Linked DNA regions of Homo sapiens: region 2 is linked to region 1. The links are contacts of gene promoters, found by promoter capture Hi-C in blood cells and fetal thymus (Javierre and others, 2016). All regions are on one chromosome and are shown on one strand. Each heading gives the region's core, a stretch centred on a gene start or on the middle of the fragment in contact. The rest is flanking DNA. Distances are from core to core; before and after follow the strand shown. Region 1 holds the start of NEUROD2 (neuronal differentiation 2). Region 2 overlaps PSMD3 (proteasome 26S subunit, non-ATPase 3).

Region 1 (6,239 bases), core at 2,190-4,689:
CAGAGCGAAAGGGATGAAGTCCCCAGGTGCACACCCCCAACCTCAGACCTCCTTCTCTGGGTGACTGAGGGGAGCTTCTCAGACCCAGAGAGTTGAGGTCATTCCTGACAGGTGGCCGGAAGGGTGGCAGGAACCCCCCAACCAAGGGCTCCCCTATCTTGAACAAGTTTTTGCCTCCTGCCTGTGAGACCCCTGAAGCGTTTAACCCAGCCCTCAGGGTCCAAGGGAGAAGGCAGGGAGAGAAAACTTTCTCCCCTAAGGAAGCATTTATTCACTTATTCATCCATTCACTCGCCCATCAATTCAACAAAAATTCAATTTCTATATAGACCAAGCATTCTGAATGTGTGTGGGGAGGGGTATGAGCAAAAAAAATTAATATTGTAAAGCATTTTACAGTTCCCAAGGTGTTTTAATTAAGAGTTGGCATTTATTGGAGGCTCATTCATGGAATGGATTATCCCATTTAGTATTAACAACAACCCTATGAAGGTGTAGCATAATTTATCCCATCTTACAGATGAGGAAATCAAGACCAAGAGATGTTATATAACTTGCTCAAAGCATTCAGCACTTTTTTTTTTTTTTTGAGACAAGGTCTGGCTCTATCACCCAGGCTGGAGTGCAGTGGCGTGATCACAGCTCTCTGCAACCTCTGCCTCCCGGTCTCAAGCGATCCTCTCACCTCAGCCTCCCGAGTAGCTGGAACTACAGGCATGCGCCGCCATGCCTGGCTAATTTTTGTTTTTTAGGCAGAGGCAGGGTTTCACAATGCTGCCCAGGCTGGTCTCGAACTTGTGAGCTGAAGGGATCTGCTGGCCTCAGCCTCCCAAACTGCTGGTATTACAGGTGTGAGCTACCATGCTGGGCCTCTCATTTTTTTTTTTTTTTGAGACGGAGTCTCACTCTGTCGCCCAGGCTGGAGTGCAGTGGTGCGATCTCGGCTCACTGCAAGCTCCGCCTCCCGTGTTCACGCCATTCTCCTGCCTCAGCCTCCCGAGTAGCTGGGACTACAGGCGCCCGCCACCATGCCCTGCTAATTTTTTGTATTTTTAGTAGAGATGGGTTTTCACCGTGTTAGCCAAGATGATCTCAATCTCCTGACCTCGTGATCCACCCGCCTCGGCCTCCCAAAGTGCTGGGATTACAGGCGTGAGCCACCATGCCTGGCTGGGACCAACATTTTTTTAAGTTGGTAATGGGGTTGGCCAGGAATCAGAAGCCCAGAGCATGGGCATGTAATTGAAATATCACAGAGCCAGGAGACTCCAGGAAAAAGGCTACTAGTCAGGATTGAGGACCCTGCTTCAGTAAAAGGATTGCAAAGCCTTGGAGGCTGTGCCCAAACTTGGTGGAGGCTGGCCAGCACTCCTGAGTCTCTGCCCTACCTGAAGCCCATCCTTTGGCCTCTTTCTCTGCCATGCCCAGAATCTCCCCACCACGACTATCTGCCAGAGATGGGATTCGCCTTGCAGACCCAGGATTCGTGAATGAAGGGAAGCATGGTAGGCTTATTTTTAGAGACCACTGAGGCAGATTGTGGGCTTATAAGTGGAGTACTGGTCTGTGGGTCAAGTGCCTGAATTCTAGGCCCAGTTCTGTGTTTCCCCTGTGTGTTCCTAGGCAGGTCAGTTTCCCTCCATGGGCCTCTGTAAGATGAGGAGTTGGAGAGGTACATTCTCAGGCTACTTTCAACTCCCAGCCAAGTGACTCAAGAGTCCCAGGCAGCACCAGCACCCCTATCTCCAAGGCCTCCTGATGTGTGTCTCTATTTAGAACTTAATCCAACCTACCCAACATCAGATCAGTGTCTTACCAGCCCAAGGTCCCTGGGGAGCCTCCTAGAGGGAGAGAGCCCTGCCCACCCAGATTGAGGGTAAAGGCCTCCCCGTGCTCATTTTTGTACCACCACAGTGCTTGGCACATGGTAGACATCAAAATGTGTGTGCTGAAAGTATAATTGAAGTTGTGTATATATGTCAGCTAGAGTGTCTGGAGGGGCAGAAATGTGGGTCTAAAACATACAAATGCTCCAAATGGGGTGTGGGCAAGGGTCTGTCTACACCAGGCTGTGATTACCTGCTCACATACATGTGTCTATCTGAGTAGGGGTATGTTATCTATTTTTCTACACCACAGGGTGAGGAACAGGTATATGTGTGCATGTGTATGCATCCGTGTGTGTGTGTATGTGTGTGTGCATGAGTGTGTGTGTGTGTGTCCAAAGCCACCTCTTCAACCTGTGCCATTTGTATCTGTGTCTGGCCCAATGAGAGTGTTGAAAGGTGAGCCACAAGATAAAACAGCAACTTCCTACCTCCCTTATCAAGACAGCTGTCTGACCTACCTCCCCTTGGCCACTCTTGGGATTACTGGGGTTGGCTTCAGTATTTTCAGATTTTTCAGAAGGGGAGGAGAATGCTTGAGTCTCATCCAGGAACTTAGGCAGTTCTCAGCACTGCCTGCTCCTCCTCCCTCAAATAACCAAGTCTGAAGACCAGGAGAGAAAGCCGCTGGTGGACTGGTCACCTGTCTGGCAGTGGGAGGAGGAGAGTGAGAGGTTTCTAGGTTAGGAATCCAGACTTAGACCCTCCCCTCCACCCCCAGATGGGTGGTGCACAGGCTCATCTCGCGGCCCCTCCCCACTCCACCCTAACATGGATACGCCCCCAACAACCAAGGAAAGATCTCCCATCGGCTGACTCCACAGATACACACATGTCCCCACAGACACACACACGCCCATGCAGAGGCACAGACATCCAGGCACATCTTTCCCTTTCTCTGTCTTTCCCTTGGTTTGAATTTCGTTTAGCCACATATGTTGTGTGTGCGTGAGGGTGGGTGGGGGAGGGGCAGACAGGGATGAGGGATGGCATGGTGCCAACATCTACCTATGGGGCTCGGGCCAGGGACGCCCCTTACAGCCATCCTGGGAGGGGGTCTCAGCTGTCCCTTTGTGGCCAAGGGGACCCTCCTGGGGAGTGGGGGCAAGCACAGAGGTCCTTTCTCCCCAACCCGGGGTCTGGTCCCTGACCCACCTTGGGGGCCTGCAGGGGAGGAAATGGACAGAGCGGGACCCTGAGGGAGCATAGAATTGGCCACCACGAGCCCCCAGTGTCCAGCCTTGCCACCCCATTGTTCCCGTGAGGGGGTCTCTATATACAGGGGGCAACTCCTCCCACCTTCCTCTCAATCCCTGCTTTCCCTGCGTTGGGCGGGGAGGGGAGGGCGGCAGAAATATTTATTTATTTCCTTTATTTATTTAATTTTTTTTTTTTTTTTTGGAGTAGAGAGTGACAGATGGCGGCGGGTCCCGGGGGAGCCGGCTCTCCCCCAGTGCAGACGCATGCCAATCACCGTCTCTCATGTGATAGCTGCTGCCCGTGACGTGCCAAGCCCATATGGCCTGGCATAGAGGCTGGTACCCCGCCTGGTAGAGATGCCACACTCGCTCCGCGGTTCGCATGGCGCTCTGAAGACGCCGGCGCCCGCCGCCTTGAGGAGCCGCTGCCCCCGCTCCCTGAAGATGGGGGAACAATGAAATAAGCGAGAAGATCCCTCTTCTCCCCCCTCTCTCTCTTGCCCCCTCCCCCCCTCCCCTCCCCTCTCCCCTTGACTCCTCTCCGAGGTAAGTTGTCCGAAAGGGAGCGAGATCTGACCCGCCGGTTGGGAGGAGGGGCGGCAGCTTCGGCCGACAGGAGGGTCCTCAAATACCTCCTTCCTGGGATGATGCCCCCCTCATTGGGTGGGCATCGGAGGGGCCCCAGGTTCTCTCTCCCTTAGGGGCTGCAGCCCAGGGGGCTGCAGAGGAGGTGTCTCTGCCTGCGATGGGCTCGGTGGGGGGGGAAGGCAGGATCACGGAGGGGGATATGCGAAGAGGCCGAGACGGAGGACCCCTCCATGGTTGTCCCAAAAAGCCTGCCACCTTTCCCCACCACCGAAAAAAGGGAAGCAAACAAACAAATTTGGATTTTTCCCCCATCAATCCCAAAATACAACGAGATCTGAAGAGCCTTGTGGGAGGGAGTCAGCTTGAAGGGGGAAGGGGGTCCCTGACCGCAGAGGGGACGGACTGGGCTCGCTTCTCTCAGTCTCCTCCCCACGCCCCGCTGCTTCAGTCCTCGCCGCCCAGAGCCGGCTCCGGGAGCTGGGGACGCATCGGCTAGAGGAGACGATCCTCCCGCCTCTGGAATTGGGGGTGCGGGGGTGGGGGCCGAGCAAGGGGCGGCGCGCAGCCAAGTTGCAAATTGGATTAGGGAGCGTGGGGGTGAGAGCCACGGGAGGGGTGAGGGAGCTGGGCCGGGGGGCCCGGGCCGCGAGAGCGCGGAGCGGGGCAGCTGTCCCCACCGGCGGCCGACCAGCCTCTCTCCACCGCCAGGAGAGAACGGGCTTTCAGGGCGAGCGCGCCGCCTCCCCTGGCAAAGATATCTGGTCCCTAAAACCCCCACCCGGTCCCTGCCCTGACCCTGAGAAGAAGCAGGCGCGGGGAGCAGCCCCCCATTCAAGCGAGGGGCGGAGCCGGGGCCCAGCGCCGGGGAGAGGGCCTGGGCCGAGATCCCAGGCCGGCAGCCGGGTAGGGCTGGGCCGGCTCTGGGCGGGGCAGGCGGCGGAGGTGGGCATCCAGGGTAGCCTAGGCAGGAGCCCGCACGAGACTCGGGGGTGGAGGAGGGTTGTGGGGGGGCGTCGGTACCCCAGCGCGCCCCTCACTTTGTGCTGTCTGTCTCCCCTTCCCGCCCGCGGGGCGCCCTCAGGCACCATGCTGACCCGCCTGTTCAGCGAGCCCGGCCTTCTCTCGGACGTGCCCAAGTTCGCCAGCTGGGGCGACGGCGAAGACGACGAGCCGAGGAGCGACAAGGGCGACGCGCCGCCACCGCCACCGCCTGCGCCCGGGCCAGGGGCTCCGGGGCCAGCCCGGGCGGCCAAGCCAGTCCCTCTCCGTGGAGAAGAGGGGACGGAGGCCACGTTGGCCGAGGTCAAGGAGGAAGGCGAGCTGGGGGGAGAGGAGGAGGAGGAAGAGGAGGAGGAAGAAGGACTGGACGAGGCGGAGGGCGAGCGGCCCAAGAAGCGCGGGCCCAAGAAGCGCAAGATGACCAAGGCGCGCTTGGAGCGCTCCAAGCTTCGGCGGCAGAAGGCGAACGCGCGGGAGCGCAACCGCATGCACGACCTGAACGCAGCCCTGGACAACCTGCGCAAGGTGGTGCCCTGCTACTCCAAGACGCAGAAGCTGTCCAAGATCGAGACGCTGCGCCTAGCCAAGAACTATATCTGGGCGCTCTCGGAGATCCTGCGCTCCGGCAAGCGGCCAGACCTAGTGTCCTACGTGCAGACTCTGTGCAAGGGTCTGTCGCAGCCCACCACCAATCTGGTGGCCGGCTGTCTGCAGCTCAACTCTCGCAACTTCCTCACGGAGCAAGGCGCCGACGGTGCCGGCCGCTTCCACGGCTCGGGCGGCCCGTTCGCCATGCACCCCTACCCGTACCCGTGCTCGCGCCTGGCGGGCGCACAGTGCCAGGCGGCCGGCGGCCTGGGCGGCGGCGCGGCGCACGCCCTGCGGACCCACGGCTACTGCGCCGCCTACGAGACGCTGTATGCGGCGGCAGGCGGTGGCGGCGCGAGCCCGGACTACAACAGCTCCGAGTACGAGGGCCCGCTCAGCCCCCCGCTCTGTCTCAATGGCAACTTCTCACTCAAGCAGGACTCCTCGCCCGACCACGAGAAAAGCTACCACTACTCTATGCACTACTCGGCGCTGCCCGGTTCGCGGCCCACGGGCCACGGGCTAGTCTTCGGCTCGTCGGCTGTGCGCGGGGGCGTCCACTCGGAGAATCTCTTGTCTTACGATATGCACCTTCACCACGACCGGGGCCCCATGTACGAGGAGCTCAATGCGTTTTTTCATAACTGAGACTTCGCGCCGGCTCCCTTCTTTTTCTTTTGCCTTTGCCCGCCCCCCTGTCCCCAGCCCCCAGAGCGCAGGGACACCCCCATCCTACCCCGGCGCCGGGCGCGGGGAGCGGGCCACCGGTCCTGCCGCTCTCCTGGGGCAGCGCAGTCCTGTTACCTGTGGGTGGCCTGTCCCAGGGGCCTCGCTTCCCCCAGGGGACTCGCCTTCTCTCTCCCCAAGGGGTTCCCTCCTCCTCTCTCCCAAGGAGTGCTTCTCCAGGGACCTCTCTCCGGGGGCTCCCTGGAGGCACCCCTCCCCCATTCCCAATATCTTCGCTGAGGTTTCCTCCTCC
Region 2 (6,239 bases), core at 1,725-4,224, 380 kb before region 1:
TGGGAGGCTGAGGTGGGTGGATCACTTGAGGTCAGGAGTTCGAGACCAGCCTGGCCAACATGGTGAAACCCCATCTCTACTAAAAATACAAAAAATTAGCTGGGCGTGGTGGCAGGCGCCTGTAATCCCAGTTACTCGGGAGGCTGAGGCAGGAGAATCCCTTGAACCCCAAAGACAGGGGTTGCAGTGAGCCAAGATGGCACCTCTGTCTCCAGCCTGGGAGACAGAGCAAGACTCCGTTTCAAAAAAAAGAACCAAAAAAACAAACAAAAAAATTAGTTGGATGTGGTGGCAGGCGCCTGCCCAGCTACTGAGGAAGCTGAGGCAGGAGAATCACTTGAACTCGGGAGGCAGAGGTTGCAGTGAGAAAAGATCGTGCCATTGCACTCCAGCCTGAGTGACAGAGGGAGACTCTGTCTCAGAAAACAAAAAACGAAAGAAAAGAAAGAAAGATCACTTATTATCCTCCCTTCCTATCCCTTACAGTGCCTAATACCAAGGTTGATGCTTAAATACTTGCTGACTGACAGCTCTTAAGTGGCCAAGTTTTATGTTTACTTGAGCCACTCAGCCTTGCAGAGATTTTCTGGGTTCCTTGGCCACAGACAATACAGTTTCCAAATGTGAACATGAAGGACTAGATAAAAACCTGGGGTTTGTATCAACACAATCTAGGTCCAAGCCTGGAATGACTGTCAGGAGCGCTGGGGAATCAGGAATATTCTAAACCTATCTGCCAGAAACACTCTGAATATCCACTGCCAGAGGTGCAGGTAGTGTCTGCTTCATTGACACCCACAAATAGATGTGAAGCAACCTTTTGCAGACATGGCAGCTCGCACCTGCAATCTCAGCACTTAGGGAGGCAGAGGCCGAAGGATTGCTTGAGCCCAGGAGTTCTCACCTGAGCAACAGTGATATGCCTGTCTCCACACACACAAAAAATAATAATAAAAGTTGAAGTCCTTCTGGATAGGAAGGTTAAGGATGCCTTTCCTAGCCCCTAGCATAGAGAAGAGAACTGAAGTGGTAGGGAATGAGTAACAGGCAAAGGGGCCAGGCATGGTGGCTCATACCTGTGATCCCAGCACTTTGGGAAGCTGAGGTGGGAGGACTTCTTGAACCCAGGAGTTCAAGACCAGCCCAGGTAACATAGCAAGACACCATTTAAAAAAAAAAAAAAAAAAGAGGCAAAGGGATGATGGTAGTTGTGGCTCACCGTCTGTTTGAAGCCGACAGCTGTGTGCTGAGGGGCCTTGCGAAGGGCGTTGGTCATCGTTCTCCGGGCCTCTGAGTACTCCAGCTGGATGGCTTTGATTCGCCCTGGGAGTGGAGGAGAGGAGAGTTGGTCAACAGAGTAGGGTCATCCAACTCCCCACCGACAAGCCAGGGTGCCAAATGGGCCTCTTATGCACCACCCCTTGGAAAATTTGCACCAGGCAGGCCTGAGACACCTTCTGATTTATGGGTTGGGCCCCTCTGCTCACCTGTGTAGTAGAGGTACCTGGCCCACTCATTGTTGTTGGCCTGCTCTGGGAACACAGACTTGGACACCAGCTTCTCAGCCTGGTCGTACAAGCTGTAGTGTAGGTAATTCCGCAGCAGGAGGTTCAACAGGGTGGCCTGCCCGTCTGCGTCATGCCGAAGCGTAGCTGTCCGGAGCCGAGCATGCAAGAAGCTTCAAGAAGGAAAGAAAGATGTCAAAGCCTTCAAATCACAACTCTCTGAACTGCCTTTAACTCTTCGCTCTTTCTCAATTCCTTAAAAAAGTTATACAAATTGCTTTTCTGGTTATTTGCTGAATACTGTTAACTATCGAGTGCCTAAGGTGTACAGCACTATTCTGGGTGCGACAAAGGGACAAAACCCTGCCCTTAGGGAATGCAGTGCAGTGGGGGAGGCAATGGTCATGAGAAAGAAGCACAGCCTGCAGTGTGACAGAAGATGGGAGGCCTGTGAGGCCAGGGGAACTGCAATGGGGAATGCAGGACGTGAGAAAGATGAGTTGAACTTTTCAATAGCTTGGCCAAGGCAGGACTCACTGAGAAGGGATCAGTTAAGGGAAGGCTTGAAGGAGGCGGAGAGAAGAGTGTTCTGGACAGAGGGGCAGCCAGTGCAAAGGCTCTGAAGAAGAGTGTGCCGGGCACACCAGAGGAAAGGCAGGCCAGTGGGGCTGAGGAGCAGGAGGAGGTGAAGTCTGGGAGGTCAAAATGGAGCAGATCACGTCAGGCCTTATGAGGTATTGTAAGGACTTTGTCTTTCCTTGAGACGGGAAGCCACTGCAGGTTTTGAGCAAAGAAGTAAAATGTTTTCTAGCCTGTCCCTCCACCCCTAACCCACCCTCAGTCCTACCTTGATGTGGGGTGAAGGGAAGAACCTGGGGACAGTTCTTTACAGCCCAGCAGTGACCCACTTCTTCATCTAGCACCAGTCTCTCTCCCACACCCCTCACGTGGCGCAGGGCATGGGAACCACTGCCCCTCTTCCCTGCTTACATCTACAGGTTCTTCGCCCTCTGCAGATCCACAGCTGTGTGCTTGTGACTGACCAAGTCTCTGACCCCACGGACCCCAAGTGAGATGCTTGGCTGCCTGTACCTGCGCACCACATCCAGCTTGTCCAGGAACTCATAGACCCGGGCGTGATAATAGTAACACTTTGCGGCTACAAGGTCTAGGGCCCGGCGGTTCTGAGTACTGATCTTCTGCATCAGATCATCAGAGATCTTCTGTGCCTGGGGAGGAAGCCAAAAGAGAATCAAGTGGCAGTTCCTCAAAAGGATAAACATGGAGTTGTCATTTGAGCCAGCAATTCCTATCCTAGGTATGCAAGCCAAGAGAACTGGAAACTTAGGCTCACATAAAAGCATGTACACGAATGTTCACAGAAGCATTATTCATAACCAAAGAGTAGAAACAACCCAGGTGCCCGTCAGCTGATGAACAGATAAACAAAATGTGGCACATCCACACGAGGGAATATTACTCAGCCTTAAAAAGGAAGGAAGTACTGACACACACTACAACATGGGTCAACCTTGAAAACATGATGCTAAGTGAAAAAAGCCAGAAACCAAGGGCACACGGTGTGTAATTCCATTTACATGAAATGTCCAGAGTAAGTAAATCCTCAATAGAGACAGGGCAGATTAGTAGCGGCCAGGGGCTGGGTAAGGGGAAAATGAAAAGTGACTACTAATACGTATGGTGTTTCTTTGTGGGGTGATGAAAATGTTCTGGAATTAGGGGTGGATATACAACTTTGGGAATATACTAAAACCCACTCAATTGTAGTATACTTTATTTATTTGTTTGACGGAGTCTCGCTCTGTCACCAGGCTGGAGTGCAGTGGCACAATCCCGGCTCACCACAACCTCCGCCTCCCTGGTTCAAGCAATTCCCCTGCCTCAGCCTTCTGAGTAGCTGGGTCTACAGGCACACACCACCACGCCCGGCTAATTTTTTGTATTTTTAGTAAAGACAGGGTTTCACCATGTTGGCCAGGATGGTCTTGATTGTCTGACCTCATGATCTGCCTGCCTTGGCCTCCCAAGGTGCTGGGATTACAGGCGTGAGCCACCATACCTGGCCTGTAGTACACTTTAAAGGGGTGAATTATATCTCAAAAACAAACAGCCAAGTACAGTGGCACGTGCCTGTAATCCCAGCTACATGAGAGGCTGAGGCGGGAGGACTACCTGAGCCCAGGAGTTCAAGACCAGCTTGGTTAACATAGCAAGACCCCATCTCCAGTAAAAACAAAACAGTGGGCCAGGCGCAGTGGCTCATGCCTGTAACCCTAACACTTTGGGAGGCTGAGCCCAGGAAATCACTTGAGCCCAGGGGTTGGAGACCAGCTTGGCAAGAAGGTGAAATCCTGTCTCTACAAAAAAAATGCAAAGATTAGCTGGGCGTGGTGGCACATGCCTGTAGTCCCAGCTACCCAAGAAGCTGAGGTGGAAGGATCACTTAAGCCGGGGAGGTCAAGTGAACTGTGATCACACCACTGCCCTCCAGCATGGGCAACAAAGCAAGACCCAATCTCAAAAAAACCCCCAACCAAACAACAACCAAAAATAGTGTGGTAAGGAAAGGAAACAAACCAGGGAATTAAGGAGTGCGACTTACTTCCTGAGTGTGCTCCTGTGACAGTGGCTATGATGAACAAAGAAGCTGGCCCTAGCTGGGGGAGTGGTAGAAGTGCAGTTTGCAAATGGAGCTATTAGTCCATAATAACAGCTACCATTTATGAAAATATCACGAAAGCTTACTATATGCAGATCATTGCGCTAAGTATTTCTAAACAAATTATTTTATGTAACGCTAACCATCTTGTAAGGTAGGCACTATTATCCCCATCTTACATATAGCTGGGAGAAATTAATTTGCCTAGGGTATGGCTGGGATTGGAACCCAGGTCTTTCTGTCTCCAAATGCCCCTACTTTTCCCCAAGAATGTACTACGCTGGTATCCCCCACAGACCGGTACAGCATGACCACTGCAAGCCCTGTCCCACAGTGCCCAGAGCAAGAGTGGGTTCTCCTGGGATGTGGGATCAAACGCATACCTCTATGGGGAAAGAGTGTGGGGGACAGTTCTTAAGAATCAATGATTATTTCCATTTCTTCACCAGGGACCATCTCCCCGCCAAACCCCTTGCATCACTTGGGGCTTATGAATCGCTCTCACTGCATCCTGGATACCTCTTTGTAGCGCTTGCTGTTCATCATGAAGATGACCACGAGGAGTTGGAGATAGGCTTCCACTTCAGGCAGGAGGGGTGTCGACGCAGCTTTTCCCGTGCGGGGACGGAACTGTAAATCAGCCTCTGTGTCCATGGGCTAGGAGAGGACAGAAGTTACCATGGAAAAGCTCAGTCTGATCAAGTAACCAAGAATTTATTGAGCATCCACTATGTATTTCAACATATTTATTGAGTGTCTACCATGTGCCAAGATTTTGTTAGGTGCTAGGGATAAAAAAATAAAGATTACAGTCTTTCCCAAAGAAATCAAGGAGGAGCTGGGTGTGGTGGCTCACGCCGGTAGTGCCAGCTACCTGGAAGGCTGAGGCAGGAGAATGCTTGAGGCCAGGAATTTGAGACCAGTCTGGGCAACACAGTGAGACCCCATCTCTCAAAAAATAAAAAAGAACTAGCCAGGCATGGTGGCATGCACCTGTATTCCCAGCTACTCAGGAGGCTGAGGCAGGAGGACTGCTTGATACCAGGAGTCTGAGCCTGCACTGGGCCATAAGTGTGCCACCGTGCTTCAGCCTGGGTGACAGAGCAAGACCCCATCTCAAAAAAACAAAACAAGTCAAGGAGGCTGGCAATATAATATTAATAAACACAATAAAGTGTTACAGGAGAACAAAAAATTTCTTTACACAACATAATGGAGACAAAGGACGATGTAAGGAACCTTCAAAGAGGCTACAACCTAAGTGGAGACATTAAACCACCACACCTGGATCCACTGCAAATACTACTGGACAGGGCTGAACGAAATAATTCTAGAGATGAAATCAGAATAATGAGACCAAAAAATGGTTTCTTGTGGGAACAAAGAAAATTTAGGGAAAGTCAACATATAAACAAAACATATTTTCCTATGTTGTCACTGACACTGGAAAAAATAATGTGTTACAGTCACCCCCAAAATAATCACGTTTCGTGAGTTTAGCGATGTGAAGGTCAGAAAATATTCAAGGTGGAGTTGGGGGAACAGTACGCTTTTCCCCTTTCCCAGACAAGAAACTCTTCACTGCCCTGCCTCCAGGGATGTTCTGAGTTTCCCCATCCACGGAGCTGACTGAGTATACAGGATTTTAAGGAAATGCAGGTGCTGGAAGGTCAGTGGAATTGGAGAAGGCTGAGACCTGGCCCATGCCATGAATCATGAGGGAGAGTTTACAGCTACAGAGGATAAGGAGAGGTCTCTCCTGGCACGGAGGCGCCACCACCACCACCAAACTGACTTCGTCTGCATTCACTACGTACCAGGCACTGCTCTAGGAGCTTTATACTGCCCGCTTCCCAATCCGTTCATCACGTTTAACAAATGAAGAAAACGAGGCACAGCAAAATGAAGTCACTCGCCCAAGTCCCACAGGTACTAACTGTCAGGGTTTGGATTCAAATTCAACTCTACCTCTAAAATCTGTGGGGTTTTTTTTGTTTTGTTTTGAGGTAGGGGGGTCACCCTGTCACCTAGGCTAGAGTGCAGTGGTGCAATCT

Evidence for each region. The method cuts DNA at HindIII sites, captures the fragments that hold promoters and counts their contacts. A CHiCAGO score of 5 or more calls a contact.
Region 2: a fragment that was not itself captured here is called in contact with the fragment with the promoter of NEUROD2 in region 1 in 1 of 17 cell types (naive B cells); the score reaches 5.2 in naive B cells.

What each region holds. Positions count from the first base shown.
Region 1 is chr17:39,605,120-39,611,358 of GRCh38, reverse strand. NEUROD2 (neuronal differentiation 2) reads left to right here and starts at 3,439. Exons shown (of 2, transcript NM_006160.4): 1 at 3,439-3,631; 2 at 4,755-6,239. The coding sequence starts at 4,760. The coding sequence ends at 5,908. The HindIII fragment of the contact is 7,147 bases long and covers 1-5,121 here.
Region 2 is chr17:39,985,178-39,991,416 of GRCh38, reverse strand. It overlaps PSMD3 (proteasome 26S subunit, non-ATPase 3), which reads right to left. Exons shown (of 12, transcript NM_002809.4): 3 at 4,705-4,842; 4 at 2,598-2,734; 5 at 1,488-1,678; 6 at 1,220-1,323. LOC124904000 (a long non-coding RNA gene) reads left to right here. Exons shown (of 3, transcript XR_007065751.1): 2 at 2,522-2,823; 3 at 4,635-4,719. Among named protein-coding and RNA genes, the nearest start is that of PSMD3, 7.5 kb to the right of the region's middle. The HindIII fragment of the contact is 2,588 bases long and covers 1,681-4,268 here.